Linked DNA regions of Homo sapiens: regions 2, 3, 4, 5, 6 and 7 are each linked to region 1. The links are contacts of gene promoters, found by promoter capture Hi-C in blood cells and fetal thymus (Javierre and others, 2016). All regions are on one chromosome and are shown on one strand. The core of a region is centred on a gene start or on the middle of the fragment in contact, and the rest is flanking DNA. Distances in the headings are between cores, read along the strand shown.

Region 1 (4,268 bases), core at 842-3,341:
TCCCACAAGAACAGTCCAAATAAGGCAACTGCTCAAACTTTAACCAGTCAAATAATTTCTTTGCTGTGCTCTGCATTTACTCTCTGAAAGCTTTCAACTACCTCTGGGGGAGCCCCAAACCACTTATGATTTGGAGCTGCCTAATTCATGAATTGCTGTCTGTTCAAATAAGCTCTTTAAAATTTTAATGTGCCAAAGTTTACCTTTTAACAGATAGGAATAGTACAGGGTGCACTGAGGACATATAATGAGGTGGGGGGCCAGAAGGAGTTGGAGCACTAATCTAGTATGGACTGGCAGAGAAGACCTCTCTAATAAAAGACATTTGGGTTAAGACCTGAATGATGAACAGGACTTTGGACAGTGAAAAGCAGAGGGACAAAGATTCCAGGAAGAGAGAATTGCAGTGAAAAGGACTAGAGACAGAAAGGAACTTGAAACACAAGTAGTCTTACAATAAACTTAAAATTTGACATAACCTAATTACTAACCAAATTACAACTTGATATAACCTAATTCCAATTTGATATAACCTTAAAAGCAACAGAACCTAATACATAATGATCCAAAGTCAAATAAGATATGGTGCCTACTCTAAGGAAGCTCAGAGGCAAATAAGTGAGATGTATTCCTATTCTCTATTCCTTTTTCATCATGAAAAAGAAATGGGGACAGGGATCAATACTTACTACCTAAATGAGCTTAAGCAAATTATTTAATCTCTTTAAAACTTGGATAATAGTATCTGTCCTGCCAATTTCAACTGTTAATATCTGTCAGGGTCCTTAAGTGCAAGGAACAGAAATCATCTATAAATGATATAAAAGCTGAAAATGAATTTATTAAAGGACATTAAGCAGCTCACAGACTCTCCCAGAAGCTGAAGAAACAAGCTAGAGGTTCTCCTCCCAATAAAGCCTCTGAGTACCTAACACTGCAGCTTGCAACAACACACTGATGCTGGACACTGGTTGCTGGTGATAGAACATTGCAGTCTCGGAAACGATGTAGTTACTGCGGCTGTCACCCTTACTTCAACAGACTCTCTGAAGTCCTGCTTCTGGTTGTCATTCAAGTTTGAGTTGAGTCCACCAAATTAGATTGGAGAGTCTAGCAAGCAATAATACTCATGTCCCAGTAATAAGGAAGACTAGGAAAGCCAGTATCTGTCACTTTCAGTTCCTGTAAGGGTGTTGGGGGGCAGGGTAAGGGAGAAACTCTGCCAAAAGGATGACAAATGGCCACTGCAAATAGGGTGAGCTCAAATGAGATAATTACATGAAAATGTTTCACAAACTAAGGGAGAATTCAGCCACATAACATTATCTCATTTTGTGTTGTATTGATTTTTAACTCCTCGAAGGCAGGCAAGTTGGAAATAATGTGTAAAATAATGTTAAAATCCCAATACATATGCAATCACATTTAAGCTGTTATCAATGAAGATTGGAAGGAAACATACAGTAAAAGTTATTTTATTAGAGAAGTGGGATTTAAGGTGAAGTAGTTCTTAAATTAAAAAAAAAAAAAAAAAGGACACTTTCCATTGAATTCACAGTCTTCCCCACAAACTTGGATCCAAATTCTAATGAAAGGAAGCTTAAAGACGCAAAGCTTCTGGTGAAAGCAGGAACGGAACAGTTGGTGCCAGAATCGCATCCATACTTCATGATGCGTTGTGTACGCTATGCCGTCCTAATAGGAAGGAAAACTACCACAAATTAGGAGTTTAGAAAATTGCACAATGCTGCCTACCACTTAACTTCAAATGTAACCTGTTAACAACGTTAGCCGACGTGAGGTTACCTAGGGACATAGCAAAACTCGCTAGAGTTACTTCAAGTAAGGCACACGGAGGTTGCTCTGATTATCAAGAAAACCAAACGTTCACATAAAATGTTTGTCTTCCAGCCGCCCCGCTGTTTTCCACTTTTTCCAAAAAGCACTGAAGCGTGGTGAAGAAACAAACATATCCTCAATTCTCGCGAGAGCTCCGTGTGTAACCAAGGGCTGAGGCGGAGGATTGGTCACTCAGGATGAGGAGCCTCCGCTATCCCGCCCCCGTTGCCGGGATACGCCGCGGCGCACGGCAGTTAGTGGGTAGGCCTGAGAGCCGAGGAAAACTGAGCGTGGGCCTCAGAAAGAAGTTAAGGCACCCGCGAGCCGGGCAACTGCCCTCCTTCCGCGCCGGCGGAGGTGAGAATCCCCGGGTCCCATCTCTTCCTCCCTCCCTCCCACGTCTGTTCTCTTGCCTTGGAGATGCTGATCCGCTCCAAACAAAACAAATTCAAACTCGGTCTTAGCTAACTGTTACCGTCGGGCCTGTAGCCAGGCCAGGCATGTACCAATTCTAGTCGAGCGAAGGTTGCGAACAGACCTCCTCCAACAGCCCGACCCCTCCCCGACCCCCCGCAGGAGACCCGCCAAGCACAGAGCAGAGGGAAGGACCGCGATGGGCTGAAGGATTTTAGTCAAAGCAATACATTTCTGCCTCTTACAGTGGAAGGGACTTATTTCTGTCTGTTGATCACAGTGCGGGCAGTTAGCAACTTTCCACTTATTCACCTGTGTGAGAATGGTTGGCTTAGGGAGGATAACGATAGTAATAATAATTAGAAGCAGATGTTTTAAATGTAATACTTATCGTCTTCACAACAGCCCTGCAAGGTAGATGTCACCCTTCTGTTTTACAGAAGATGAAATCCTGAGGGGTTAATTAAGGTGGCAAGATTATGCAGCCGCTAACTTTGTCAGCACTAGTTTGTATCGCTAATCATTCTGGATCCAAAGGCCAGGCTGCCTCTCTGTGTGAATAATTGGAAATTGTGTGACTCTTTGATTGAATAACCCCGAAGTTAGTGGTATATTTGTTGCTAATGCCCGCCTCTTAATCCCACTGGTAATAATATAATGGTAAGCTTTTTTTCACCACAGTAAAACGGTGGCAAAGAAAATTGGGTGAAATTTTTTATGTTGTACATTTTCTCAAAGTTAGCAGGAAACCTAGAGTAATATCTTTTCCACTGGAAAGAGATGTTTATTGTACTCGTTTTCTTCTGGAAAAACCATTTTGATCATACACCGTCTTCCTTTTCAAAGAGTCATTTCATGAAATTCCTTTTTCCATTTGAAATTCTTTTGCTTTGTACATAGAGTTCAAAATGGCAAGGAATTAGAATCAGGGAGCTAGTGGGGTCAGGAAGATTGATGTGAACATATTCAAATGAGATATCTGAATGGAAATTTCAGATAAACAATTGAAAACTCAAAATTGGTGCCCAGTTGAAAGGGCAGAACTGTAGACATTGATTAGTGAGCCGTACACATAGTTGGAGTTATAAAGATGCATGACTGTAGAAAGGATAGAAGCAGTCCAAGGACTGATTACGAGTAATGCTAAGAAAAGTCAGAAAAGTAGTACTGGACATAGAGTGTAGAAACAGAGAAATCATTTTAGTCCAACACACGCTTTGTTTGCCTTTTTTTTTTTTGAGACGGAGTCTTGCTCAGTCGCCCAGGCTGGAGTGCAGTGGCGCGATCTCGGCTCACTGCAAGCTCCGCCTCCTGGGACTACGCCCGCCACCACGCCCGGATAATTTTTTTTTTGTATTTTTAGTAGAGATAGGGTTTCACTATGTTAGCCAGGATGGTCTCCATCTCCTGATCTCGTGATCCACCCGCCTCGGCCTCCCAAAGTTCTGGGATTACAGGCGTGAGCCACCGCTCCCGGTCGCTTTGTTTGCTTTTTAACAATTTAGTAAATTTTTGTAATTGGCAATACCTTTATGTACGAGGAAATTTAAAAGATACAAGAGAGAACAAAGTTTTTGCTTATCACTGAGACAGATTTTGGGGATATAAAGATGATTAAGATTCAGCTCTTGCCATAAAGGGTGAGAAATACTTAAGCAGATCATTTCAAGTGGTGTGATAGGTTCTGGAATAAAGTAATACACAGGATGCATGGTAGCATGTAGAACAGGCCTATACACTGAAATTGAAGAAGACGAAGATTCCAAGACCAGTTATGGACTGGTCATGGAAGGATTCCCAGAGAAAGTAATAGGCAAAATGTGTGTTAGGCAAGGGGACCACTTAAGAGGCTGGTATAATAGTCCACCTGAGTCAGTGATGCCCTGAATTGGCCAGTGCTGTAGGAATAGAGAGTAAAGTACCTGTTAAACACTTAGGAACAAAATCAGTAGAACTAAACAAAACAAACTCAGTAGAACTATGTGACCAGCCATGGGAGTAAGGGAGAGGAAGAT
Region 2 (4,268 bases), core at 1,038-3,537, 750 kb after region 1:
GCTACCAACTGTAGAGTGCTGCACTTGAGTGAAAATGTCATCTATCAGCTCCCTGTGACACCAGGACTAAAGCAAACATTTCATATTAGAGTTATCTATGTTTATTTTCCCAACGTCATGAAAGGTTGAACAGTTTTTCTGTTTCAGTCACAAGTCTCCACAGTTTTGAGTCTAAGTTTCAGCTGAGCTGTCCCAGATGCTCACAATGGTGGTCACTTTCTCCATAGAATAATGTGAATTGTTAAAAGAAAGAAAAAGAAGAAGGGATGTGGGTGAGTTGGGGGAAGAGAGCTGATACTGCCAAAGAACACTAAAATAACACTTAACAGTAGAACACTAGACACATATAGTAGAAAACAAATCAATTCAGAAAGATATTCTCATAAATCCTCTTTCTAGTGACAACTGGGGTTCTTTAAATGGAGAAAAATGAGGGACTGTTATGCAGCATTTGAAAAGAAGCTACAAATTAAGATTATGGATCAATTACTACTGATCTAATATCAAGTGAAATAAAGCCAGATTATAAAAATATACATGAAAAACAATAACAACTATGTTAAAACACATGCAACTTCATGTAGTAACATAGTGGAGCGAAGTACATAAACTTCATGATGACAATTGCTTTAGGATGGAAAGGCAATTGTTTCTTAAAAAACCGTTTGGACGGTGATCGTATTTTAACTATGAAAATGTAAACTTTATTTATTAAGTTGACGTTTAACAGAAAAGCCTTGCAGGGGATCAGATCCCCTTCAAGATTGCACCTGGGAGGCAGGAAAGGATTGTTTATTTAGCCTTAAGGATTTTGTCATAGATTGCAGAGGAATGCTTTAGCCCCTAACCATGCTGCTCTGCTCTGTTCCCATTTCATCTGCACTTGCAATACAAAAGTGTTTTCTGAGGGTGTTCTGAAACAGTTCTAGTCCGCTTAAGGTCACACAGATCAACCCTGGATCCATGTCTCAGTGGAGCAAAGTTGAGGGGGAAGGCAGACAAAGCTGACTGCTCATGGGGGCCCCACGTGGTTGAGACCCAGAGAGAGCTTAATCAGTGATGTGAACTGGCTGACGTGAGTTGCAGAGACACAAACTCACAACCAGAGTATCAATCAGCATTAGTGATCATTAGGGACATGGTCTGCTTAAAGTCAGCAATCTGAAAAGGCCAGACTGAGTTCTTATGATAGAAATGACGTATGTATAAAACATTCCCTTTTTGCTTTCAAATCAATTGGCCCTTTTATATTACATGGCACAACTCTCTAGAATCATAACTTACTTCTTGCCAAGACAGATTTCAAGTTCCTTCTTTGGGCAAAACTTTGACCCTTACTTTAGATCCCTTGGAGACACATTTCTATATGGAAGTCTTAGTCATATTGGTTCCAACAAGACTGAATATAGTGCTCGACACTTAATAAGTTCCCAGGAAATGTTTGTTAAATGGGATACAAAAGATTCCCAATTTCTTTCCTCTTGTCTTCACAGCAGCAGCATACTGTGTTCCTCTATCTGGAATGTGTCTGAAGTGGCTTGATGGCTTTGTCATGGGTGGGGGCACTTCCTCTCAGGGAAGTGCAGGCTTCACTCTTTTTGTCCTCTTCACTCTGTTCTGAACTTTTCTCTTCACACTGGATTTCTGTTTACTGCATGGCCTTTAGATATGATGCCACGGGGTGTCTCTGCGTTTTAGGCACCTAGCCTCCTTCTTCTCTTGGAGGGGACATTGGCACAATTTCATTTTTGAAGCAACTGGCATCTCAGATTATGCTTCAAGTCCCCTAACCCAATTTAAAGCTTTCTTTTTCTCATAGCTTTTCTAGATCAGTAGTGTGTGTGTTGCCTAGTCATCAAATCTAATAAGAGCAGACAGTTTTGTCTCTCCGATGGTTCCTGTGTAATAATTCCACATCCATGTGTCATCTAACACACACCGTTTTGTCAGGTTAGGAAAGTGAAATTCATGAGCTTAAAAAGAGAGGACATTGTCCGTGGAGTTGCAGCCATGACAGAGTTATGTGTCCTTAAAAAAGGGGCTATACAAAAGCTGCTTCACTGCACTAAAACTAACACATCCCATGTTATTGACTCCCTCGGAAGCAATGTCTAAAGACCACTGCTCCAGCTGGTAGAGACATCGGAGTCTTAACCACCGATTAGCACATTTCCTGGGTTGTGCGTTGTCCTTTGGCTGAACTCTCCAAATGCTGCACTTGCTGAGGTTGCTTTAGACTCAAGAGTGTCATAGCAGCACTTTTTGTTATTATTGCATTGGCTTCCTTGGGTTCAGATGTCACAGTGCAGTACCGATAAGTGAAAAATTAAGGAAGAACTAGCAAAAAAATAAAGCATATGTTGGAAGTCACAGCATAGCATAATTACCGTCAAGATATTAACTCTCTAAAAAGAGGACAATTCAAGCATTAAAAAGATGCTATGTTGGGATGTTGTATCACTTCTTGCCAGTATATAGTCGACTCTGATTTAAGATAAAGTACGTAAGTTCTATTTTCTAATGTACCTTCTAGAAGAATAGACCAGCAGTTAAAACTTCTCATTAATAAGTGCAACTTGTAACATAATAATAGATTTATAATACATGCTTAGTTGAATAGTAGGGATAGGGATGGTGATAAAGGTATTTACAATGTTACAAATTAAGCATTTTACATGTGTGTTCTCTTTCAACACATCCCTCAGTATATCTAACCTTCAAAGACCTCTATAAGATGGGAATGATTATTCCCATTTTGTAGATGATGAAACTGAAGCTTAGAGAAGTGACTTTTCTGAGGTTACATGGCTAGAAAGTACAGGAAACAGGTGGTCCTAATTGCAGATCTTTCCTATATCAGTTGTTGTTTCTCAGGGAAGCAGAATAACTGTAAGTTATACAGAATAAACATTTATTATAAGGATTAGATATTTCACAATTATGGGAGCTGTTTAAAAAACATCTAAGATTTTTTAATAAAAAAATCTAATATTTTTTTAAAGTAAGAGGCTGTTGCCTCTGCATTTCTAGTGGTGGGCTTGAAGTTTCTGTTTGTTAGCCAAGGGAATATATTATAAGGATATAGAGGTATCTTATTGGACATGGGGTCTCAACAAGTTCCTGCAATCGGCAGTCATCAGGAACCAAGGTGTTGGTTTGTTCGCTCTCTCTTTGTCACCCTCTCTCTCTCTCGGTATCTGTTGCCTATTCTCTTTCTGGAGATTGACTTAGTTTTTGTATTTATTTATTTATTTGTTTGTTTGTTTTTGCTTCTTTGTGCATATAGCAGAAGATGGACACTTGTGTAGCTATCCAACCTGTAGATTTTATATCAAACAACCAACAGAGAATGCCTTGGAACTATTAATACTAATTCCAGATTCCAGGAAAACAGAATCTCATTAACCCAACTTGGATCAACTGTGACGAGGGAAGAGTAAAATGAAGACAAGGAGGGTCATGAGTGGGCAGCCACCTCCAAAAGTATGCTACAACCAGGATTGTTCTGGCACGGTATAAAGGGTGGATTTCAGGAGGTGATAATAAAAACTGGACATTTCTGAAAGTTAATTTGACAGGCTTTGCTGCTTGCTCTTGTAGCAGAGAGTTTCCTGTAACAAATTGGGCAAGGGGGCTGAGATTTTGCCTTGGAAACCAATGTATTCATTTACAATTGGATGTGAAAACTGTCCTAGAAGGATTATGTTCTATCTGGCTTCTCACGGTTTTTAGATAACTGTAGACTTGTTATAGAGATATAACCCAACTTCCACTTCCTCAATTCATTAAAAAGGAAACTGAAGATCAGAGAGATTAAAGGATTACTAAACCTCTCTTTTTAATTAAATTATATTTTAAACCATAATCCCTCATCCAAATTGTACAGATCCTTTTTGGAATGGTTTTAGAAAAGAACCTCAGTGATTAGAACTCTACTTGACAGATTGGGTTAATCCTCAGATCTTCAAGTGAATTGAGATTAAGCTAAATCATATATTCTCACTATATCTTAAAATAACTAATTTTCTACCCCAAAAGAACATGCATTTAAGTTGACAGTCTCTTGGTTCTGATTCTGCAGATGTCTCCAGTTTGAACATATGGTGATTGTACTTACCACCTGTGCTGAAATTCTTGCAAACACTGGGGATTTGAGACCAAATGTCAGCCCCAAGTTTGATATATATTGGCTTCGGTAACTCTTTCTCATAACCTTCTCTCAATCTTAAAATAGTTTGAGATTATTATATTTGTCTGAATGTTAGTAA
Region 3 (4,268 bases), core at 233-2,732, 710 kb after region 1:
AAACTGTGCTCTAAACAGATGTGCTGTCATCTAAGCTTTGTTCTTCCACTTACAGAACACAGGCAGGGTAGGTTAGCATAATATGTTTGTTTGTTTTTTGAGATGGAGGTCTTGCTGTAATGGCCAGGCTGGACTCAAACTCTCGGGCTCAAGCAATCCTTTCACCTCAGACTCCCAATTATAGGTGTGCCACACCACCTGGCTCAAGATTTAGCATAATTCTTAAGGGCCCTAGCATTTTCAGAATAATCAATGAACACTGGCTTTAACCTAAAGTTACCAGCTGCATTAGGCCCTAACAAGAGAGTCAACCTGTCCCTTAAAGCTTTGAAGCCAAGCATCGACTTCCCCTCTTTAGCTATGAAAGTCCTAGATGGTATCTTCTTCCAATGTAAGGCTATTTCATCTATACTGAAATTTCATCTATCCTGAAAATCTGTTGTTTAGTGTAGCTTCCTTCATCAGCTATCTTAGCTAGATCTTCTAGATAACTTCCTGCAGCTTCTACATCAGCACCTGCTCCTTCACCTTCATTTTTTTTTGTTATAGAGATGTCTTCTTTCCCTAAATCATATGAGCCAACCTTTGCTAGCTTCAAACTCTTCTTTTGCAGCTTCCTCACCTCTCTCAGACTTCATAGCATTGAAGAGAGTTAGGGCGTTGCTCTGGATTAAGCTTTGGCTTAAGGGAATGTTGTGGCTGGATTGACCTTCTATCCAGACCACTCAAACTTTCTCCATATCAGAAATAAGACTGTTTTGCATTTTTTAAAAAATCATTTGTGTGTTCACTGGAGTAGCATTTTTAACTTCCTTCAAGAACTTTTCCCTTGTATTCACAACTTGGCTAACTGGCACAAGAGGTCTAGCTTTCAGCCTATCTTGGCTTTTGACATGTCTTCCCAAATCAACTTACTCATTTCTAACCTTTGATTTCAAGTGAGAGACATGCAACTCTTACTTTCACTTGAAGACAAAGTCATTGTAGGGTTACTAATTGACCTAGTTTCAACATTGTTGTTTCTCAGGAAATAAGAAGGCCTGAGGAGTGGGAGAGAGTCAGGGAATGTTTGGTTGGTGGAACAGTCAGAACAAACACAATATTTATTGATTAAATGTATCCTTTTATATGGGTGGGGTTTGTGGTGTCCCAAAACAGTTACAATAATAACATCAAAGATCACTGATCACAGATCACAGTAATAGGTATAATAATAATTAAATAGTTTGAAATATTGCTAGAATTGACAAAATGTGACACAGAGACATGAAGTGAGCACATGATGTCGAAAAAATGTCCCTGAATAGAATTTCTGGATGCAGAGTTGCCACAAACATCAACTTATTAAAAATGCAGTATTCACAAAGTGCAGTAAATAAAGCACAATAAAACAAGGTATCCTTGTATATGTAATCATGCTTTACTCTTTTGGAGAGTACATAGTTGTAATTAAAAGCAGAGCTTGTGACATCACTCCTTTTTTTTTTTTTTTTTTTCAGGTCAAGAAAATTACATCCCTCCCAGAATGCGAAGATATAAACATGCTCTAAGGAGGTATGACAGCTATGCTCAAGATTCAGGTGCTCAGATAATTAGACGAGGTAAGTAGCAGAACTTTCAAAATGATGGTCGAACGAGGGCAGTTCCCATTTGTGTGTGGCATGCACACACATATGCAAACACACACATGGCCCAGGCCAATGGCTTACCTTTCCAATCAGTTTTCTTACCTACTTAACAGAAGAAATGTATTCTTATATTTTCCTCTCTGTTTTAGCTATCTAACTATTGTGAAGAAGTAACTTTGTGAATTGGTGTGTGCAGTTACCTAAAATATCTTGAGTACAGATACCCAAAATATTCTGGAATTTTCTTTTGCGATTGTCTTCAATGCTAGCTTACAAGTTATTCAAGATAATGAGTTACTTTACTTTATAGTCACCTCTTATATTTATAGAAAGTCATATTCCATTTGATCCCTCACTTTATCACCCTTGGCTCTGAATAACTTCTGGATGTTTCAAATGTGCTTCCAAAGGATAAAAATTTTCCATCCCTTAAAGAATGAACATTTGAGGATGTTAAGAATGCATTCTCGGGATGATGGCAATTCCAAAGAGGACTCCCTGTGCCCTGGACTGCTCCTCTCCCCAACACAAGATTTTGAGCAATTGCAACGTTGTTAAAATAACTAGTTGTTAAAACTCATCTCAGCTGGGTGCCATGGCTCATGCCCTTAATCCCAGCAAGGCGGACAGTGGGGGATTGCTTGAAGCCAGGAGTTTGAGACAAGCTTAGGCAACACAGAGGGACCCCATCTAAAAATAAAAAGCTTATCTGTTGTTCAAGGATACACCATTTATTTGATGGTTTATTTAGGTTACATGGTTTATTCAAACCTTGAACATCGAGGAAACCTCAGAGGGGTGAATGTACTTAAGACGCTTGATAATGTTTTTGTGAGTTGATCAAGAATTCTGTATTCTTGCTTCAGTTTTATGTTAAGAGAAATTGGAGTCTCCAAAGAATAAAGGCGTACACTTCTAGTAAAAAGCCAGTGGTGTACCAGACATGGATCTGGCTTTGCTGATTTCCTCCCCTCCAATTCTCTGTCTAAAATCCTTGCAAGACTTGATGGCAAGGCAATGATAGAAGGTTGTGGTGTCGTAGGATGCTTACTAGATTGGAATCAGAATATTCCTGGCCAGGAATCTGGGTGTCGATCAAATGTGGCAGTACCTTTAAAAGCACTTGCATAGTGCCTGGCACCCAACTGGCACTTCAATGCTGATTTTGAATTTGAAATTTAGAAGTTAAAGCTATAAAAGTGAAGGCCTACTGAATTTTATATACACAGCTTAATAATGGGATAAGAATGCATGCTATAAGAGGTCAGGCTTTTAATAACCCAATACAGTGAATCTCTTAATTCTCAATAAAAAGAGTGTAAAAAAGATGAAAGAATCTAGCCTATAATTATTCTGCCAGGTCATGAGGTATAAGCAGGTAATTTTAGAATGTTCTATAACTGTACTTTATAGATTGCATTAAGTCGGGGTAGTAATTTTTTAGGTTTCGTGTGGCAGGGTTTATTTCTGAATATAGAAATGTTCAATTCATCATGCAAAAATTTTTACATAGGTAGACCTCTTCACTATCCCAAGTTTATTTTATTTCCATCTACGCACACTCATTCAAAACATGCATGCAATGTATGTAGGCATGCATGCACACATGCACACACTCACACACACACTCCTCAGTACATGAAAATTAAAGCTAAGTAGTCATAATTGGTCACCTTTTGCCTTATAATTTGGATTTTAGGAAAAATAACCCTCTCCTATTTTCCTCCTTTTGAGAAAACTGTAGAGAAATATATTAGCATTCTCAAATGTATTGGCCTCATGTATTTTCTTTCTTCCCTTGCATGTAAACCTTGTAGTCTTGCCAAGGTTTTCTAATATTTGCATGTCAAACACAGATTACAAGCCCCCTGGGCTGGATTCACACTGGCCTCTTGGCTTTTTACAAAACGTTGCATAGCCTTGTCACTAGCTTGATGTTAAAGCAAATAATGCTAGCATCCTTAGTAAGGCCTTTGCCCTGAAAACTGAGAAAATCCGACCACAATAAACATGCTGAGAATAAAATCAGTCTCTGCTATAATTATTAGGCCAGAGACAGGTAAGCACAATTATTTCTGTACTGAAAAAAAACAGGTGGGTAGTAGCTGGCTCTGCACTGAGGGGGCAAAATGCTTGAAGTCCAGGGATGTTCAATCTATAAGCTCATATGTGTCCAACACCCACTTATTCCCTCCAATACATTTTCCCCTTGATGCTATGCCTTCTTTTTGTTTTTAAAAGCAGTCTTAAATTGGTTACCATTTTTTTCCCTTCTCATACTTCTTCCTGTGCTTATAGGCAAGGGACAGTAAATTAAGCATATCTAAGGATTTAATGCTCAAAATCACCTTGGATAATTGGCTTATGGGGTTGAGGCATGCTTTTCCCTCAGTCTCCTAGTATTAATGCTATTTCTCCTCAGAGGGTACATCTGTCAATAATTGATGAAGCCTTCTTGGGTAAATGAGCTGTTTCTTGGGACATTATAAATCATATTTGGAATCAAGTTTATTTTCAAGCTGCTTTTGAAGTCTCGATGCTGTGCTAACTGAACAGAAAATGTTAAATGTTTGAGGGAGTAGTGCAAGCTCTCAAATGCTAACGGCATGAGCTGGACTTAAAAAAACAAATGGGATTTAT
Region 4 (4,268 bases), core at 709-3,208, 700 kb after region 1:
TGCAGAAAACTGAAACTGGACCCCTTCTTTACACCTTATACAAAAATTGACTCAAGATGGATTAAAGACTTAAATGTAAAAACCAAAACCATAAAAACCCTACAAGAAAACCTAGGCAATGCCATTCAGGACATAGGCATAGGCAAAGAATTCATGACAAAAATGCCAAAAGAAATTGCAACAAAAGCCAAAATTGACAAATGGGATCCTATTAAACTAAAGAGCTTCTGCACAGCAAAAGAAACTAGCATCAGAGTGAACAGGCAACCTACAGAATGGGAGAACATTTTTGCAATTTACCTATCTGACAAAGGTCTAATATCAAGAATTTACAAGGAACTTAAACAAATTTACAAGAAAAAACAAACAACCCCATCAAAAAGTGGACAAAGGATATAAACAGACACTTCTCAAAAGAAGACATTTATGGGGCCCACAAACACATGAAAAAAAGCTCAACATCACTGATCATTAAAGAAATGCAAATCAAAACCACAATGAGATACCATCTCATGCCACTCAGAATGGTGATTATTAACAAGTCAAGAAACAACAGGTGCTGGCAAGGCTGTGGAGAAATAGGAGTGCTTTTATACTGTTGGTGGGAATGTAAATTAGTTCAACCATTGTGGAAGACAGTGTGGTGATTCCTCAAGGATCCAGAACCAGAAATACCATTTGACCCAGCAATTTCATTACCGAGTGCATACCCAAAGGAATGTAAATCATTCAACTATAAAGACACATGCACACATATATTTATTGCAGCACTATTTACAATAGCAAAGTAATGGAACCAACCCAAATGCCCATCAATGATAGACTGCATAAAGAAAATATGGTACATATACACCATGGATTACTATGCAGCCATAAAAATGAACAAGATCATGTCTTTTGCAGCGACATGCATGAAGCTGGAAGCCATCATCCTCACCAAACTAACACAGGAACAGAAGACCAAGCACCACATGTTCTCACTTATAAGTGGGAGTCTTACAATGAGAACATGTGGACACAAGGAGGGGAACAACACACACCAGGGCCAGTTGGGTGTTGTGGGGTGAGGGGAAGGAAATTAGAGGATGAGTCAATAGGCGCAGCAAACTACCATGACACATGTATACCTGTGTAACAAACCTGCATATTCTGCACATGTGTCCTGAAACTTAAAGTAAAATTTAAAAAAAAAAAGAAAAAAACTTAAAAAAATGTTCTGCCATATGAGATTATAAGAAGGGTAGAAAATGTCCGTCAGAATAGACAACAAGTCCCAAAGCTTTTGACCTGGAAGAATGCAGCTTATTTGCTATAAATCTTTTTTTTGTTGTTGTTCCTAGAGCTTCTTTCACTGGAGCCACTTTGGGGCATTTTTGTCTTAGTGGATTCATCGATGTTCTAGGTGGCATGAGTGGGTGGGTGGGGTTGGGGATCCAAAGTTAACACCTGTCTCCTTCATGTGATAATCAGACTAATTTATCATAGCCACAGGGCAATGACAGTTTCTTGGAGGTTTCCTGGAAGTCAGGAAATAGTCTCCTGATGGAAGATGGAATTGCTTCCACCAGTAGGTACATCAGTGATTTTGTCAGGTAGAGGGGATGGCCTGATATAGCTTACAGGGACAGAAGTTCTTTACTTTTTGAAAATGACTTGGTGTTTTCAAATAGGGATAACTAGACTTAGCACCTGGAGAAGTTAATCATAAACAAAATGTACTCTAAAGTACATGTACACATACAAAAATGCTTATTTTAGAGAAGAAAAATGACTAGTGAGTTATATCTTATTTTCTCTTTAAAGTCAACCAAACTTTTATCCTTCTTGCCTGAGTACTATGTAAGAATGATGGACTTTTTGTTCTATAAAGATGAGGATACGGCCAGGTGCAGTGGCTCATGCCTTTAATCCCAATGCTTTGGGAGGTTGAAACCGGGGGATTGCTTGAGGCCAGGTGTTCAAGACCAGCCTGGGCAACATAGTGAGACTCCCAACTCTTAAAAAAAAAAACAAAGATGCGGATGGTTAGTACATGTTTTCCTAAGACAGTCATGAGCTCTGTAATAATGTTTTGGTCAATGACAGACTGCACATGTGATGTTGGTCTCGTAGATTATAATACTCGTAGATTATAATAATGGAGCAGAAGAATTCCTGCTGACATCATAGCTGTCTTAACCTCATAGTGCAATACATTACCCATGTGTTTGTGGTGATGCTGGTGTAAACAAGCCTATTGTGCTGTCAGTCATATAACAGTATAGTACATAAAATTATGCACAGTACATAATACTTGATAATGATAATAAATGACTATGTTACTGGTTTATGTATTTACTACACTGTACTTTTTATTGTCACCTTAGAGTGTACTCATTCTACTTATAAAAATAAAGTTAACAATAAAACAGCCACAGGCAGGTCCTTCAAAAAGTATTCCAGAAGAAGGCATTGTTATAATAGGAGGTGACAGCCCCATGTATGTTACTGCACTTCAGACTTTCCAGTGGGACAAGATGTGGATGTGGAAGACAGTAATATTGATGATCTTGAACCTGTGTAGGCCCAGGGTAATGTGTTTGTATCTTATTTTTTAAACAAAAATGCTTAACAAGTAAAAAAAAATAAAAACAGAAGAAAGCTTATAGAATAAGGCTATAAAGAAAGAAAACATTTTTGTATAGTTGTGCAATGTGTTTGTGTTTCAAGCTAAGTGTTATCACAAATGAGTCAAAAAGTTAAAAAACTAACAAACTTATAAATTTAAAAAGTTACAGCAAGCTAAGACTAATTAATTATTGAAGGAAGAAAGTAGCTTTTTATAAATTTAATGTAGCCTAAGTGTACAGTGTTTATAAAGTCCACAGTAGTGTGTAGTAAAGTTCTAGGCTTTCACATTCACTCACCACTCACTCACTGACTCACCCAGAGTAACTTACAGTCCTGCAAGCTTAATTTATGGTAAGTGCCCTGAACAGGCGTACCATTTTAAATCTTTTATACCAGTACTTTTATTGTACCTTTTCTATGTTAAATAGGTTTAGATACACAAATACTTTTCATCATTTTAACTGCCTGCAGTATTCAGTACAGTAACATGCTGTACCAGTTTGTAGTCTAGGAGCAATAGGCTATGCTATAGCCTAGGTATGTAGCAGGCTATACCCTCTAGGTTTATGTAAGTTCACTCTACGATGTTTACACAAATATGAAATCACCTATAACACATTTTTCAGAATGTATCCCCATCATTAAGTAACACATGACTGTACCACTCTGACATATGAATATCATGAATTATTAAATTCCATTAAATTATGACTAAGAAAATTAATGTATCTGCATGAAGAATCTATGTTAAATAAAAATATTTTTAACATTTATGTAAATAACAATGTCACTTAAAGTCAATTATGTCTTTACAGTAATAAGAATTGGGAAAGGCCCAGCTTTAGGATGTTTTGCTTTTAAGTCGACTTTAATGTATAATTAACGTGCAGTAAAATGTACCTATTTAAAAGGTTCATTTTGATGACATTCTGCAAATGTATATGACTATGGGAACACTATCTCAATCAAGACCTTTCCATGACCCCAAGAAATTGCCTCATGCCTCTTTGTAGTCATCTCCCCCATCACCCCCATCCCTGGCCTCAGTCAACTGCTGGTCTGCTTTCTGTTACCATAGATTAGTTTTGCTTTTCTCTAGAATTTCATATAAATGGAATCATATAGTACGCACTCTTTTGTGTTTGGTTTCTTTATTTCAGCATAACATTATGGATATTCATATATTCTATTGCATATATCAGTACTTCATTCCTTTTTATTGTTGAACATATTCACTATGTGGATATACTGCAATCTGTTTATGTATTCTGTTACTAATGCACTTTTAGACTGTCTCCAGTATGGTGCTATTATGAACAAAGCTTTTATAAATATTCTTGCACAAATAGTTGTATGGACATGCATTTTACTTCTCTTGACTAAACAAAGGTAGAATTGCTGAGTAAAGGTTTTTATTTAAAATTTCTCTTATGTTTGCTTTATTTTATTTATTTTAGAATTAGGTCTATTTTAGCCTCAAATAAATACCTCCTTATTTGTAATACAAACATTTGATCAAAGTTCTTCTGCAGAAAGGAGCCATAGTCTTTCTTTTTATCTTAGTTGGTGTTTAACTTCTTATACTCTGGCAGTAGTGATATGGAAGGGGAGCAAGGAAGTGCTGGGAGGAGAAGGGCAGGGCCCCGGCGAGGGCTGCA
Region 5 (4,268 bases), core at 1,070-3,569, 670 kb after region 1:
AAATAAAAGAATTAATGTTCAATCTCACTAGTAATTGGAAAAATGCATTAAAACAACATTGCGATAGTATTCTTCATCCATAAGATTGTTAATTAAAAGTATTATAACCAGTGGGGGTAAGGATGCAGTAAAACAGACATGTTCTTACACTGTTGATGTGAATCTAAACTGTTAGAGTCTTTTGGTGGGTTATTAAATTACAACTGTATTTTTCAAAATAAAAATATTTATATTCTATGCCTCCTTTGTGATTCCTCTTCCAAAACCCATACTAAAGAAATATGCATACATACAGCAAAAAGATACACAAGAATGTTTGTTAATTGCAGCATATTTTTAAATTATAAAAATTAGAAAAGTCCTAAGTGTCTATCAATGGGAGAATAAGTAATTAAGCTACAGTCCATCCATATTTTGGACTACTCTGCAATGAGTTGTGGCTGGGCGCGGTGGCTCACGCCTGTAAATCCCAGCACTTTGGGAGGATGAGGTGGGCGGATCACGAGGTCAGGAGATGGAGACCATCCTGGCTAACACGGTGAAACCCCATCTGTACTAAAAATACAAAAAAAAATTAGCTGGGCCTGATGGCAGGTGCCTGTATTCCCAGCTACTTGGGAGGCTGAGGCAGGAGAATGGCGTGAACCCAGGAGGTGGAGCTTGCAGTGAGCCGAGATTGTGCCACTGCACTCCAGCCTGGGCGACAGAGCAAGATTCTGTCTAAAAAAATAAAAAAATTAAAAAAAGAATGGGTTGTATGTATGTACAGTAGATATAGAGGAAGATGTACTAGAGGTTGCACACAATTTCTTCCTAGGCCTTATTATATCTATGTAATATATATTATGCACATATAGTATGTTACATATACATAACATATTTTTTAAATATATGTATGTATTTCCAAGACATATAATTTGGTTGAAAGCAAGTCATAGGACAATATCCACAATGCAATTCCATTTAAGTTAAAAAACCATACCTCTATATATGTATATATCAATATGTATGTATATATGTATGTATATACATTATACATACATGCATATAGGTAGAAACATTGAAAAAGAGCTAGAAAAACATTTACAACTAAAATGGTGTATTCTTCTGAGGAGATGAGGGTTGGATAGGGTAAGAATGAAGGAAGGGTTACTTTCGTGATTTGTTCAATAATCTTTGTGTTGTTTACATCTTTACAGTGAGAATATATACACATATATCATAATTGTATGACAAAAAACAACAAAGAGGGAAAAAAGAGGGAGGCAATAAAGAGCAAAAAAAAGTTACCACTAGACAGCTAACATTATGAAGATGATAAATATATGATGAAGATATTATATTATTTGATAACATATACATACATTACGTTATATTATCAAGATGGTAATTACCACGGGAAAGCTGAGAAAGCATATAGACAAGTTCCTCCTTGAACCACAATTTCCTCATTTAACAGTTCCCCAGGGTGAAGAGAATGGGGGAGGTGGTAAAGTATTCTTTTTCTAAGATTCTTCCAGCTCAAAATTCCATGTCAGTACAGCTGCTTCCAAATTGGTTTCTAAAGTTGTTTTGCCATTTTGCATTTCAATCAGCACTGTATGAGATTCCAGTTGCTCTTCATCCTATCTAATATATGTATATAGTAGTATTTCCTTATGGTTTTAATATGCATTTCTCTAATGACTAACGATGAGTATCCTTTTTTTATGTGCTTATTCATCATCTGAAATGGATCTGAGATCGTACTATAAAACTTCTAGAAGAAAATATAGAAACTAATCTTTTTGTGTTGAGCCAAGATTTCTTAGGACAACACAACCCCCAACCCCCACCAACCCATAAAAGAAAAAATTATAAATGGACTTCATAAAAATTATAAAATTCCCGTTCTTTGAAAGATATTATTAAATAAATGAAAAGATAAAAAAACTTGGAAAAAATACTTGCAAAATGCCTATGTGATAAAGCTTTGTATCCAAAATATATAAAGAGCATTTGCAACTCAGTAAAAAGAAAACAATCCAACAGAAAATGATCAAAAGATCTGAAGAGGTACTTCAGCTTTTATTAATGATGACTGAAATTAAAGATGAACTATTTTTTTTCTGGGCATTTATTTAGTAAATACTGGTGATTGAAGTTCCATCCAGATGTGGTTATTTTTGCTATAATAAATGTCCTTTTATGGTTATTCTCTGGAATGTGTAATAAAAAGTGATTTGCTTGAGAATGGCTCATTTTTCACTACAAGTAAATAATTAACAAAATTTATAGATTTTGTTAAATACTTATACTTTAAAGTATAACTAATTGGAAACACCCTATACAGAGCGTGGACTAGCTTTGTTATTCCTTCCTTGACAAGGAATTTTAGCAAACATTCTATGGAAAGGATAATTAGCAAGAGTCTCAGCTTTCGTTTTTGCTTGGCTATTTCCCTTGAGTTTAGTAAAGTAGAAAATTTAAGATATAAACCCACCATTTTTCCCTTTATTTTGGAATAGGGGATGGTACAGACTAAACCAAAATGGGATTACCATTCACTGGTTGAGCACTTACATGGAATCAGGGAAAATGTTTCTGGAGAACTCCTGGCGGGTGATATTTCTTAAACAACACAGAATCGAAAAGAGTAGCAGTGATTGTAACTGGTTTCTCTGGCTTCCTAAGCTTGTTGTTGCCTCTTGGGACCACATGACTGTGGCCACCCTTCCAAGAGCAGAGTTATCCCTGGGACCCTCTCTCTTGCAGCCTCTCTTTTTCTTTTTCCCACATCTCCTTCATCCTATTCAACGATTTACTCTCTCCTCTAACTTTCCTCTTCTTTGGAGACTAGTTCTGAGGCTGGGAAGGATGAGGGCCTAAGACCTGTGGGTGGAGAAGGGAGGGAAAACTGGCTGTCGATGGTCTGGCTTCAGGGTGAAGCCGACCTACTCCCAACGTTTTCAGATCCCTGGCAAAGTGCAAACGGAGGACCTCATATATTCTCATTGCTCGAACTGGTAATTAGTCCTCATTTAGTTCAGAATGTGAAGTTGTTGGAATTTTGTCTGAACTTTTCGTGTTGCAGATTTGATGAGAATAGTTCTCTTGCTTTTTAATTGTTTTGATCAGTAATTCAATCTTCATTATATTAATATAAAAAATGTAATGCCCTAGTCACAAATTTTAAGTCCATCATGCTTACCAGATATTTGTCCACTCTCATTTTTTTCCAGTTTTTATAGATTTAAACAGACTGCCTTTTTAAAGATTTTCAGTTTCTTTTTCCTGTTCACCTTTTTTGTTGTTGTTGTTCTTTTGGAGCTTCACGTTTGTATATTCTATTGCTATTATAATCTTAACTTGTACTTATTCTCAGTGATTATGGTAGGCATATTAATAGCCCCCTTAAGATCTCCCGTCTAAACCTCAGACTCTTTTATGAGGCAAAAGCGACTTTGCAGATGTGATGGAAGTTAAGGATCTGAGATCTTGTATTATCTAGTGGGCATAGTCTAATCATGATAGCCCTTAAAAGTGGAGAATTTTTCCCAGCAGCAGTCAGCGAGATGAGATGACAGAAAGGTAAGAAAGATGTGACATGAGGACTCAACCTGTTGTTGCTGGGTTTAGAGACGAAGGAGGGACGCCACTAGTCGAGGAATGTGGGCAGCCTTTAGAAGCCGAAAAGAGTAAGACATAGATCTCTCCTGGAGCCTGCAGGAAGAAATGCAGTCCTTCATTTTAGCCTAGTGACACCTATTTTGGAATTTTGACTCACAGAATGGTAAGATAATAAATTTGTGTTTTGTAAGCCACTGAACTATGGTAATTTGTTAGGGCAGCAATAGAGAACGAATAGTAAATGATTAAATTATCAAACATAATTACATTTAAAGCGTACAAAACTTAGATATATTTTCATTAAAAATTTAAATTAAATATAAAAATTTTGAATGAAATTATTTTTATATATCTTTTCAAAAAAGTTTTCTTCTAATATTACATTTATCTAATATTTGATAATATTATCAAGCTTATCCAACATTAAAAGCAAATTTACAAAGTACAACATATAAATATGAAAATTTAAAGTTATTTAATTAAAGCTAAACTTAATTTTTTGGAAAAGTAATTCAATCTTAGTAAATATTTTCATGGTAATAAAAGTTTTAGCAATTCCTGTGTTTTGTTTTCATCTAATTGCCAATACATAAATCATTACAACTAAGCCTATAGATATACATATATACAAATTTAAGACTAACATGGAATGCTTGATG
Region 6 (4,268 bases), core at 755-3,254, 650 kb after region 1:
AAATCGCTTAGAAGAATGAATTTGGAATTTGGAATCAGAAGACCGGAGTAGTCATCTCAGCTCTGCTACTTCTGTGTTTTCTGGTTCTGGGAAAATCACTTGACTTCTCTGAGTCCCAGTCTCTTCATAAAAAAAAAAAAAAAAAAAAAAAAGGGACGGGATAACAATGTCTTCTTTCTTTCTCAAAATGACATTAACTAAATCAAGCTGCAAAGGGAAATATGTGGTTCTTTTTATTTGTAAGCTTAAAGTCCAAGCAGTTATGACAAATGGGTTTCACCTGAAGTGCAAATGCCCATTTATTCCTAGTGGTTCCTGGACCCCTTTATTGAGAAGGGTTGTGATGACCTGCCCCAAGCAAGGGGGGAAGAAGGCTGCTACTGCATAGTTCACGCTACTTAACTCCTGCCTCCTCTTTACCGAGCCCTCTTAGCTCACCAGAATCTGCATCTCAGAAGCCACCTCCCATTCAGCATGAACTTCCTTTTTATAAGAGCCCCCAAAAGTCACCTCAGGTAAATCACACTCATGAAATCTCTTTTCAGCCTAAAACTGTCTCCTAAAATGAAGCCCTCCCAGGCCCTTCTAATTCTGTCACCACTTTCTCACTCCTCCAAAATAAACTGCTTTTCAGTCCAAGGAATTCTTTAGAGAGAGAAGAAGAAACAAGGATCTGCCCGTGTAATTCTGTTGTTCTATCACTTTCTTTGCTTCATTATGTGTCACAGAGGTTTAGCAAGTACTCTCCAGAGGAGGCTGGGGTGGAGGAAAAATGTGTGAGGCCTGTGGCCTAGTTACTGTTGAAGTCTTCCTAGCAGCTTGCTTAATGCTAATTTCCTAGGCTTTGCAAATAGATCCTGCAGTGGAAACTGCTACCAATAGTGACGTAGTTGAAAAACCATGGGCCATAAAAAACTATTTATGACACTTCCCCCTTTTTCCAGCTCACACTCTGGAATGAACCAGTAAACAAATAATTAACACACAAGCAAAATTATTCTTCTAGGGCTTAAGGCTCTGTCCTAGTAGGAAAAGAATACTGTAGAAGGAAACTTGACAGAGAATACTTCGGAGAACTTAAGTGATGTTTTGATGCCCACAGATTCTGAAAGCTGACATCAACATTTCTAATATTTGTCCATTACTGTTTAATATGATAGGTTAAGTGTTGCTTCAGGGAGCTTGGAATTGTTCACTTCCAAGAAGTGAGGAGGATGCTTATTATTGCTCTTATGACTTCTCTTTAGAATTTGCATTGCTTTTACCATCCACAAACTGCTCCTTGGTAATTTTTATTACTAACAAACCCATAACCTGATTGGTTTCTCTTGAAATAGAGGGTATTGTGAAGTCACTCAGGATACAGATATAGTGCTGATGGGATCAATTAAAATGAATTGTAGTCCAGGAAAAGGTGCTTTGTGAAGCACTACGAGTGACAAAGATGAGTTTAGAAATAATCACTTACTTTATGACCACATTTCATAGTCTTGCTCACCCAGATATTTGTGACAATCATATTCTGGACCTACATAAAGGGTGAGCTACAGGAAGACAAACTTGCAAACATTACGATTTGAAAATAATTGATGTTTACTAACAAGCACATCATCATTTCAAAGCACTTTCAAGAAAAAGCATCCTCTTTCCTAGACAACTAAAGAGGGCTGTTAATTCAGATGGAATCATCTGAAAGCTTTTTCTTATCACCAACTTACTTATTTTCTTTTAATCCCCTCCCCAATATAAATCATAGCACCTCTGGGTGATAGTATTTGAAAATGACAAAAAGAACCCAGATGTTGACTAAAGGCCAAGGTTAATTGGATATGTGTGAGACTGTGCTGTAACTTCTTATTGAATTGGGTGGCTGAGCTGTATAGTTCTTGTGGCATTATTTCAGGATCTGAATTTAGTGATTACATAAGAAACTTCTAATGCGCTAAAGCGTTTAATAACCCATGTCTAAACTTCCCTTCCATAACTTCAGTTTTCGTCCAGAATCTCCGTTACTCAGATCTTTTCAACGGCTTCTTTTCTGGCTGCTGAGGAACCCAGAAACTTCTGACTGGCTTTGAAGGGTTACTTCCCTTGCATTTTTTCTCTCCTTTCTTATCCTTCTTTCTCAGGCTGCTCGCTGTAATATCCCTCAAACTGGATCTTCTCCTCCCTCTGTTCCTTCTCCCCTCACCTTCATTTTATCAACCAATTCCCTATGTTTGACTTTTCTTTTTCTCTCTCTGCCTCTCCAAGTCATCAAGACCCATTCAAGGTCCATTTCTTCCAGGGATCCGGATTAGTCCATTCTCTACCAAGCTTTCCTTCCTCTAAAATACCATTTTTAAAGCCATGTTATCCAGTAGAAATAAAATGCAAACCACACAAGTAAGTTTGTTATACTGTAGAAACAGATCAAATGAATTTTGACAATATAGTTTATTTAATCTATCATTTCTACCTGTAATAAACTTAAGATTATTAATGAGATATTTCCATTTTTTTTGAAGTCTTAGAAATCTGGATTATATTTTATACTTAAAGCACATGTCAGTTTGGACAAGCCACATTGCAAGTGTCCAGTGTGGCTAGAGCTTACTACATTGAACGGTCCGGGTTCAGAGCCTGTGCCACATTCTCTAGCTCTCAATCATGTACTTCCTTATTTCATAGCTTTCTACCAGACCAAATTGCAAACAACTCCGTAGAGTTGGCGGCTCCATTTTACACTTCCTCTGTCTTCACATTTTATTCCTGTGTGTGTAGTAAGCTATTAGTAATTGCCTATTGATGGATTGGTAATATTAATTTTATCTGTGACCTCTTAAACACAGCATACTTACTCCTACTACAGTTTCCTCAGGCTTGAAATTTCCCTCCTCTTCCCCATATTTATATTATGATTCAATAACCAAATCACCTCTGTTTTGTTAGATCTGAATCTCTGTGGGTATGTTGGATGAGATTATAAGAAATAGATGTGCATTATTTGCAGTTCTATTGCACTAGAGAGCAGCATTTTCACAGAATACTCATCGTTCAGACAATTCAGGCAAAATAGGATTTATAGCTGAAATCAATGGGATAATTGCCTCCATTGTTCTTTTTTGCTTTCCTAACAGAGACCTGGCCAACTCCTCGTAAGAGTCTCCTGGTCACAGAATCCAACCATGAAGCAGAGGCCCTTCAATTTGATTACAATGGCAAAGACACAGTTTTATAAGCTGAAACTAAATCACTGGGATAGGAATAGCTTATAAAATTGCAGGGAAGGAAGGTCGTGAAGAAGAAAAGGAAACCCTGGAGAGTACAAGGACAGATAGGGGACCTGAAGTAGAGGACAAGATGAGGAGATTACTAAATTCTGTCAGGGGTGCTAAAATGGGGGGAGCGTGCGAAACATACTATAACTGGGAACCTCAGTTTTAAAAATATAGTTTAACCACCCACTTTCCTTTCATCTCTTCATTCCTTTCCTTTCCAGACACTCCCCTCTGGCAATGCCTGCTTATTTAATTATGTTCTTGCTTGAGAAATTCCAGAGGCCAATCTTGAAACAAACCATGCATGGAGCCCTGAGTGCAGAATCCTCCTGCTTAGCGAGGAGTCACTGACAGTCCACCACCACTGGGCTGAATTCAAAATAATACCAACTAGACCTCCAGATGGGTGACTATCTGAGATAGCCATTGGAACAAGACACACAGACCCCGCCCCCTGCACCCCTCCTGCATGCCTCCCATACCAAGTTTTCCTTTGAACACTCTATGGTAAATTTTAAAATTTAAGATGGTTCTGTGACTATTGTTCACCATCTTCTTGGTTTGCTGCTTCTCCGATTAAAATCGCTTTTCCTCCCACCAACCTTCCTCTCTTATGTCTAGCTTTAGAGCAGCAAGCAGCTGAACCTGGGTTCAGTTACAATACAAACCTTACCTATTCCACAGTTTTATAAACAAAATGCTGAGGTGTACTATTTCAAGCCCTGTTATCATTTACTTCAAGGGAAACTTCCCCAAAACAGAATGATGGAATTGTAATTCTAGAACTCTGCCAATAAACAATAACATTCCTTGATTTTTCTCATCATATAAATTGTCAAAGTTACAAATGTTATCTCCATACACCTAATGTTTTAAGACATCTTACAGTCTTTATCGAGAATCTGTCAATTGGTTCTTATTAAATAAATAATTCATTTATTTAATTTTAAAGTCTTGTTTCTGTTTCTTATCAGTAACATCAATCTTAGCTCCCTGTTAACTTTCTTC
Region 7 (4,268 bases), core at 1,293-3,792, 620 kb after region 1:
TGATTAGCTACCTACTGTAACAGTACCTGGGCCCCTTTGAGCAGCTGGGATTCAGGGAGCAGAGTCCCAAGGCTGTAAGAGGGAGCAGGGGCCCTAGGCCTGGCCCAGGAAATGATTCAGTCCTCCTAGGCCTCGGGGCCTGTGATGAGAGGGACCACCATGAAAGCCTAAAATGCCTATTAGGAACACTTTTACACTGTTGGTGGGACTGTAAACTAGTTCAACCATTGTGGAAGTCAGTGTGGCGATTCCTCAGGGATCTAGAACTAGAAATACCATTTGACCCAGCCATCCCATCACTGGGTATATACCCAAAGGACTATAAATCCTGCTGCTATAAAGACACATGCACACTATGTTTATTGTGGCACTATTCACAATAGCAAAGACTTGGAACCAACCCAAATGTCCAACAGTGATAGACTGGATTAAGAAAATGTGGCACATATACACCATGGAATACTATGCAGCCATAAAAAATGATGAGTTCATGTCCTTTGTAGGGACATGGATGAAATTGGAAATCGTCATTCTCAGTAAACTATTGCAAGGTCAAAAAACCAAACACCACATGTTCTCACTCATAGGTGGGAATTGAACAATGAGAACACATGGACACAGGAAGGGGAACATCACACTCTGGGGACTGTTGTGGGGTGGGGGAGGGGGGAGGGATAGCATTAGGAGATATACCTAATGCTAAATGACGAGTTAATGGGTGCAGCACACCAGCATGGCACATGTATACATATGCAACTAACCTGCACATTGTGCACATGTACCCTAAAACTTAAAGTATAATAATAATAAAATAAAAATAAAATAAAATAAAATGCCTGTTAGTCCTATGAGTCTTTCTCCCCATTGTTTTGGTTATCAGCCCTTGCCTTCCTTTTAGTTATGCAAATTTATGCAGCCTGCTTGACTTCCTCTCCTGAGAACGAGCTTTTCTTTACTACCACATGGCCAGGCTGCAAAATTTACAAACTTTTATGCTCTGCTTCCCTTTTAAGTGTAAGTTCCAATTTCAGGTCATTTCTGTGCTCATGCCTATGAGCATAGGCTATTAGAAGCAGCTAGGTTACTTCTTGAACACTCTGCTGCTTAGAAATTTCTTCTGCCAGATACCCTAAATCATCATTCTTAAGTCTAAGATTTCACAGATCCCTAGAACAGAGGAACAATGCAGCTAAGCTCTTTGCTAAAGCATAGCAAACCTGACCTTTACTCATTCCCAATAAATTTCTCATTTCCATCTGAGACCTCCTCAGCCTGGACTTCACTGTCTATATCACTATCAGTATTTTGGTTACAACCACTCAACAAGTTCCTAGCGAGTTCCAAACTTTCTCTCATCTTTCTGTCTTCTTCTGAGCCCTCTAAAATGTTTCAACTTCTGCCTGTTAGCCGGTTCCAAAGTCACTTCTACATTTTCAGGTATCTTTATAGCAATGCCCTTCTTCTCAGTAACAATTTTCTGTATTAGTCCATTCTTGCATTGCTATAAAGAAATACTTGAGACTGGGTAATTTACAAAGAAAAGAGGTTTAATTGACTCATGGTTCTGCAGGCTGTATAGGAAGCATGGCAGCATCAGCTTCTGGGGATGCCTCAGAGAACTTACAATCATGGCGGAAGGCAAAGAGGGAGCTGGCACTTCACATAGCGGGAGCAGGAGGAACAGAGAGAGGGAAAGTGGGGGAGGTGTTACACACTTTTAAACAACCAGATCTCGTGAGAACTTACTCACTATACAGTACCAAGAAAGGATGGTGCTGAACCATTAGAAGCCACCCCTGTGATCCAATCACCTCCAACCAGGCTCCATCTCCAACGTTGGGGATTGCAACTGAACATGAGATTTGGATGGGGATATGGATCAAACCATATCAATATTGTATACTGGAAATTTGGTAAGAGAATAGATTTTAGATAATCTTATCACATACATAAAAGGTAGCTATGAAATGATGGATATGTTAATTTGCTTGACTGTAGTAATCACTATACACGTGTATATCAAAACATTATGTTGCCCATTTTAAATACATACAATTAAAAAAAATTACACTTAATCCTCCTGACATCTCTAGGATGTAGATATTGTCATCCCTAGGATGTAGATATGTTTTACAGAGGAGATAACTGGACCTCTGAGAGCTTGAATTATTTACCCAAGGCTACATACTTTGATAAATTAGGCCAGTTTCATGCAATTCTAGAGCTCACTGAGTCCAGAGGACAACAACCTGGTACCAAGTTGATGATAACTCATCTCAGATAACTCCTATGGTGGTTAATACTAGCATCCCCAGTTTAGAATAAGACTGGAACTTGGATTAAGTGCCTGGGAGGGGAATACAACTCCAAAAGCAGGTTTTCCTACTTCAAAATTTGGCCTACAGACAAATAATTTTCCTTTTCTCGAATAGGTTTTTCTGTTTTTTTGTGATATCAACCCTGAAACAACTATGTTTCCTAAGAGAGAAATAATCAACACCAAAGCCTAAATTCTACATGATCATGAGAAATAAAATATATGGTGAAAATGGCTCTGTATGCATGATGCTTTCTAGCCAGTGACTGTGTATCTTCCCCCCACCTAATCCAACAGGTATTTAGTCATTGTGTAGCAGTATAGTAGCTTGTATGTCTTTCATTAGATTGGAGCAAAAAAATCAGGAGAGAAACAATAATTATAACATAGTACAGTGGTCCAAAATACTTTATTGCCTGAAAGGGTAAAAGAGGAGGACAAATATTCTAGCATATATGCAGTCTTCTGGGAACCAAAGAGAAAATGATATTTAAGTATCTAGTAATGTGATTCATATTAGCAGCATGAAAGATGGCTTGGGAGGGCTTTAACCCTTATCCTTTTCATACTCTGTTAACTGGTTTATTAACCACATCAAGTAACTGTAGCATCTAAATGAAAATAGGTTTTTCTACAGAAATATGTCTTCAAGTGAGAAGCCTAGTCCTCCATTTTCAACCAGAATGACACCCTTAAAAGACCTTATATAGAAATTTTTGAACTCTTCACATATAATTAATGCAGTCATACAAAAAGACTCTACAACTAGGGAAGCAGAAAAGCATATGGTTAAGAGAGTGGGCTCTGGAATCAGAGCTGGTGTGAGTATTGTCTTTGCCTTTGATTAGTTATGACATTTTGGGCAGTACTGTATTTCTCTGTGCCTCAGTTTCCCCAGCTACAAAATGGCATGCAGAATAATTTCTCCTAGGATCATTGTGAGGGTCATGTGTGATCAAGCAAGCTAAGGATTTAGAACAGTACATTCGAGAAGTGGTTCTAATCTCAATTTTACTAACTATGCAGAGATAATAAAAGCAATAACAAATGACTTATTAGCCTTTTAAACTATGTACCTATGTATGATTCCAATAACTATTATATCAGAATCCAGATAAACTTCCTGCTGTGTCAAAAATGCCAGTTGTTGTCAGGAAGGCATTCTTGCTATTAGTGTATTTCAAAAATGCAATATCTGCTGCTGATTCAGAGCTAGAGCTGAGAGCTTGTTGATTAGCTCCCATTTATCCAGATTACAGCAAATTAGATTTAACTGTGACTGGCATGTGAAAGATCTTATGTAGGACATGGAGGAGGAATACCGCTCCATAAACCATAGTGCATTTAATTTCTTTTTCTTTTTTTCTTTTTTGAGACAGAGTTTCACTCTTGTTGTCCAGGCTGGAGTGCAATGGCACGATCTCAACCTCCACCTCCTGGGTTCAAGTGATTCTCCTGCCTCAGCCTCCTGAGTAGCTGGGATTATAGGCATGCACCACCATGCCCCGCTAATTTTGTATTTTTAGTAGAGATGGGATTTCTCCATGTTGATCAGGCTGGTCTCAAACTCCCAACCTCAGGTGATCTGCCCTCCTTGGCCTCCCGAAGTGCTGAGATTACAGGTGTGAGCCACCGTGCCTGGACTTAATTTCTTTTAAATAATGAGATTTTATGTGGTTGCCTTAATCATTACGGACTAGGCGGTATGCACTTTATGGTACATTATCTTTTGGTTGGAATGTGAATGAACCAACACCTACCTGAGGTACTTCTAGGTGAAATCTTGATTCTTGAGTATATAAAGTTACTTCTGGTTGCCAGTGTGATATAAATGGTTTACAAAACTCTAGGGGTTCTGTGCCTGGAGCCAACACTCTACAGTTCTGATGATAGACAATGTAAACAATGCCCTTGCAAGAGAATATCAGGCCGGGTGTGGTGGCTCACGCCT

The links. The method cuts DNA at HindIII sites, captures the fragments that hold promoters and counts their contacts. A CHiCAGO score of 5 or more calls a contact.
Region 2: a fragment that was not itself captured here is called in contact with the fragment with the promoter of IFT74 in region 1 in 4 of 17 cell types (monocytes, M0 macrophages, fetal thymus and 1 more); the score reaches 9.5 in monocytes.
Region 3: a contact is called between a fragment that was not itself captured here and the fragment with the promoter of IFT74 in region 1, in 1 of 17 cell types (fetal thymus). The highest score is 5.5, in fetal thymus.
Region 4: a fragment that was not itself captured here is called in contact with the fragment with the promoter of IFT74 in region 1 in 1 of 17 cell types (fetal thymus); the score reaches 5.8 in fetal thymus.
Region 5: a fragment that was not itself captured here is called in contact with the fragment with the promoter of IFT74 in region 1 in 4 of 17 cell types (fetal thymus, activated CD4 T cells, total B cells and 1 more); the score reaches 6.5 in fetal thymus.
Region 6: a fragment that was not itself captured here is called in contact with the fragment with the promoter of IFT74 in region 1 in 6 of 17 cell types (total B cells, monocytes, naive B cells and 3 more); the score reaches 9.9 in total B cells.
Region 7: a contact is called between a fragment that was not itself captured here and the fragment with the promoter of IFT74 in region 1, in 10 of 17 cell types (total CD4 T cells, non-activated CD4 T cells, total CD8 T cells and 7 more). The highest score is 20.6, in total CD4 T cells.

Annotation. Positions count from the first base shown.
Region 1 is chr9:26,954,321-26,958,588 of GRCh38, forward strand. It overlaps IFT74 (intraflagellar transport 74), which reads left to right and starts at 2,092. Exons shown (of 20, transcript NM_025103.4): 1 at 2,092-2,196. IFT74-AS1 (IFT74 antisense RNA 1) reads right to left here and starts at 1,987. Exons shown (of 2, transcript NR_121605.1): 1 at 1,807-1,987; 2 at 1,460-1,695. RefSeq lists enhancers at 1,304-2,039, 2,040-2,774 and a silencer at 3,371-3,665. The HindIII fragment of the contact is 1,304 bases long and covers 1,613-2,916 here.
Region 2 is chr9:27,699,664-27,703,931 of GRCh38, forward strand. No RefSeq gene overlaps it. Among named protein-coding and RNA genes, the nearest start is that of C9orf72, 130 kb to the left of the region's middle. The HindIII fragment of the contact is 974 bases long and covers 1,801-2,774 here.
Region 3 is chr9:27,667,522-27,671,789 of GRCh38, forward strand. LOC105376002 (a long non-coding RNA gene) reads left to right here. Exons shown (of 3, transcript XR_007061441.1): 2 at 1,500-1,601. Among named protein-coding and RNA genes, the nearest start is that of C9orf72, 96 kb to the left of the region's middle. The HindIII fragment of the contact is 1,618 bases long and covers 674-2,291 here.
Region 4 is chr9:27,650,524-27,654,791 of GRCh38, forward strand. No RefSeq gene overlaps it. Among named protein-coding and RNA genes, the nearest start is that of C9orf72, 79 kb to the left of the region's middle. The HindIII fragment of the contact is 1,362 bases long and covers 1,278-2,639 here.
Region 5 is chr9:27,621,449-27,625,716 of GRCh38, forward strand. No RefSeq gene overlaps it. Among named protein-coding and RNA genes, the nearest start is that of C9orf72, 50 kb to the left of the region's middle. The HindIII fragment of the contact is 703 bases long and covers 1,969-2,671 here.
Region 6 is chr9:27,599,624-27,603,891 of GRCh38, forward strand. No RefSeq gene overlaps it. Among named protein-coding and RNA genes, the nearest start is that of C9orf72, 28 kb to the left of the region's middle. The HindIII fragment of the contact is 620 bases long and covers 1,695-2,314 here.
Region 7 is chr9:27,577,241-27,581,508 of GRCh38, forward strand. No RefSeq gene overlaps it. Among named protein-coding and RNA genes, the nearest start is that of C9orf72, 5.9 kb to the left of the region's middle. The HindIII fragment of the contact is 6,143 bases long and covers 1-4,268 here.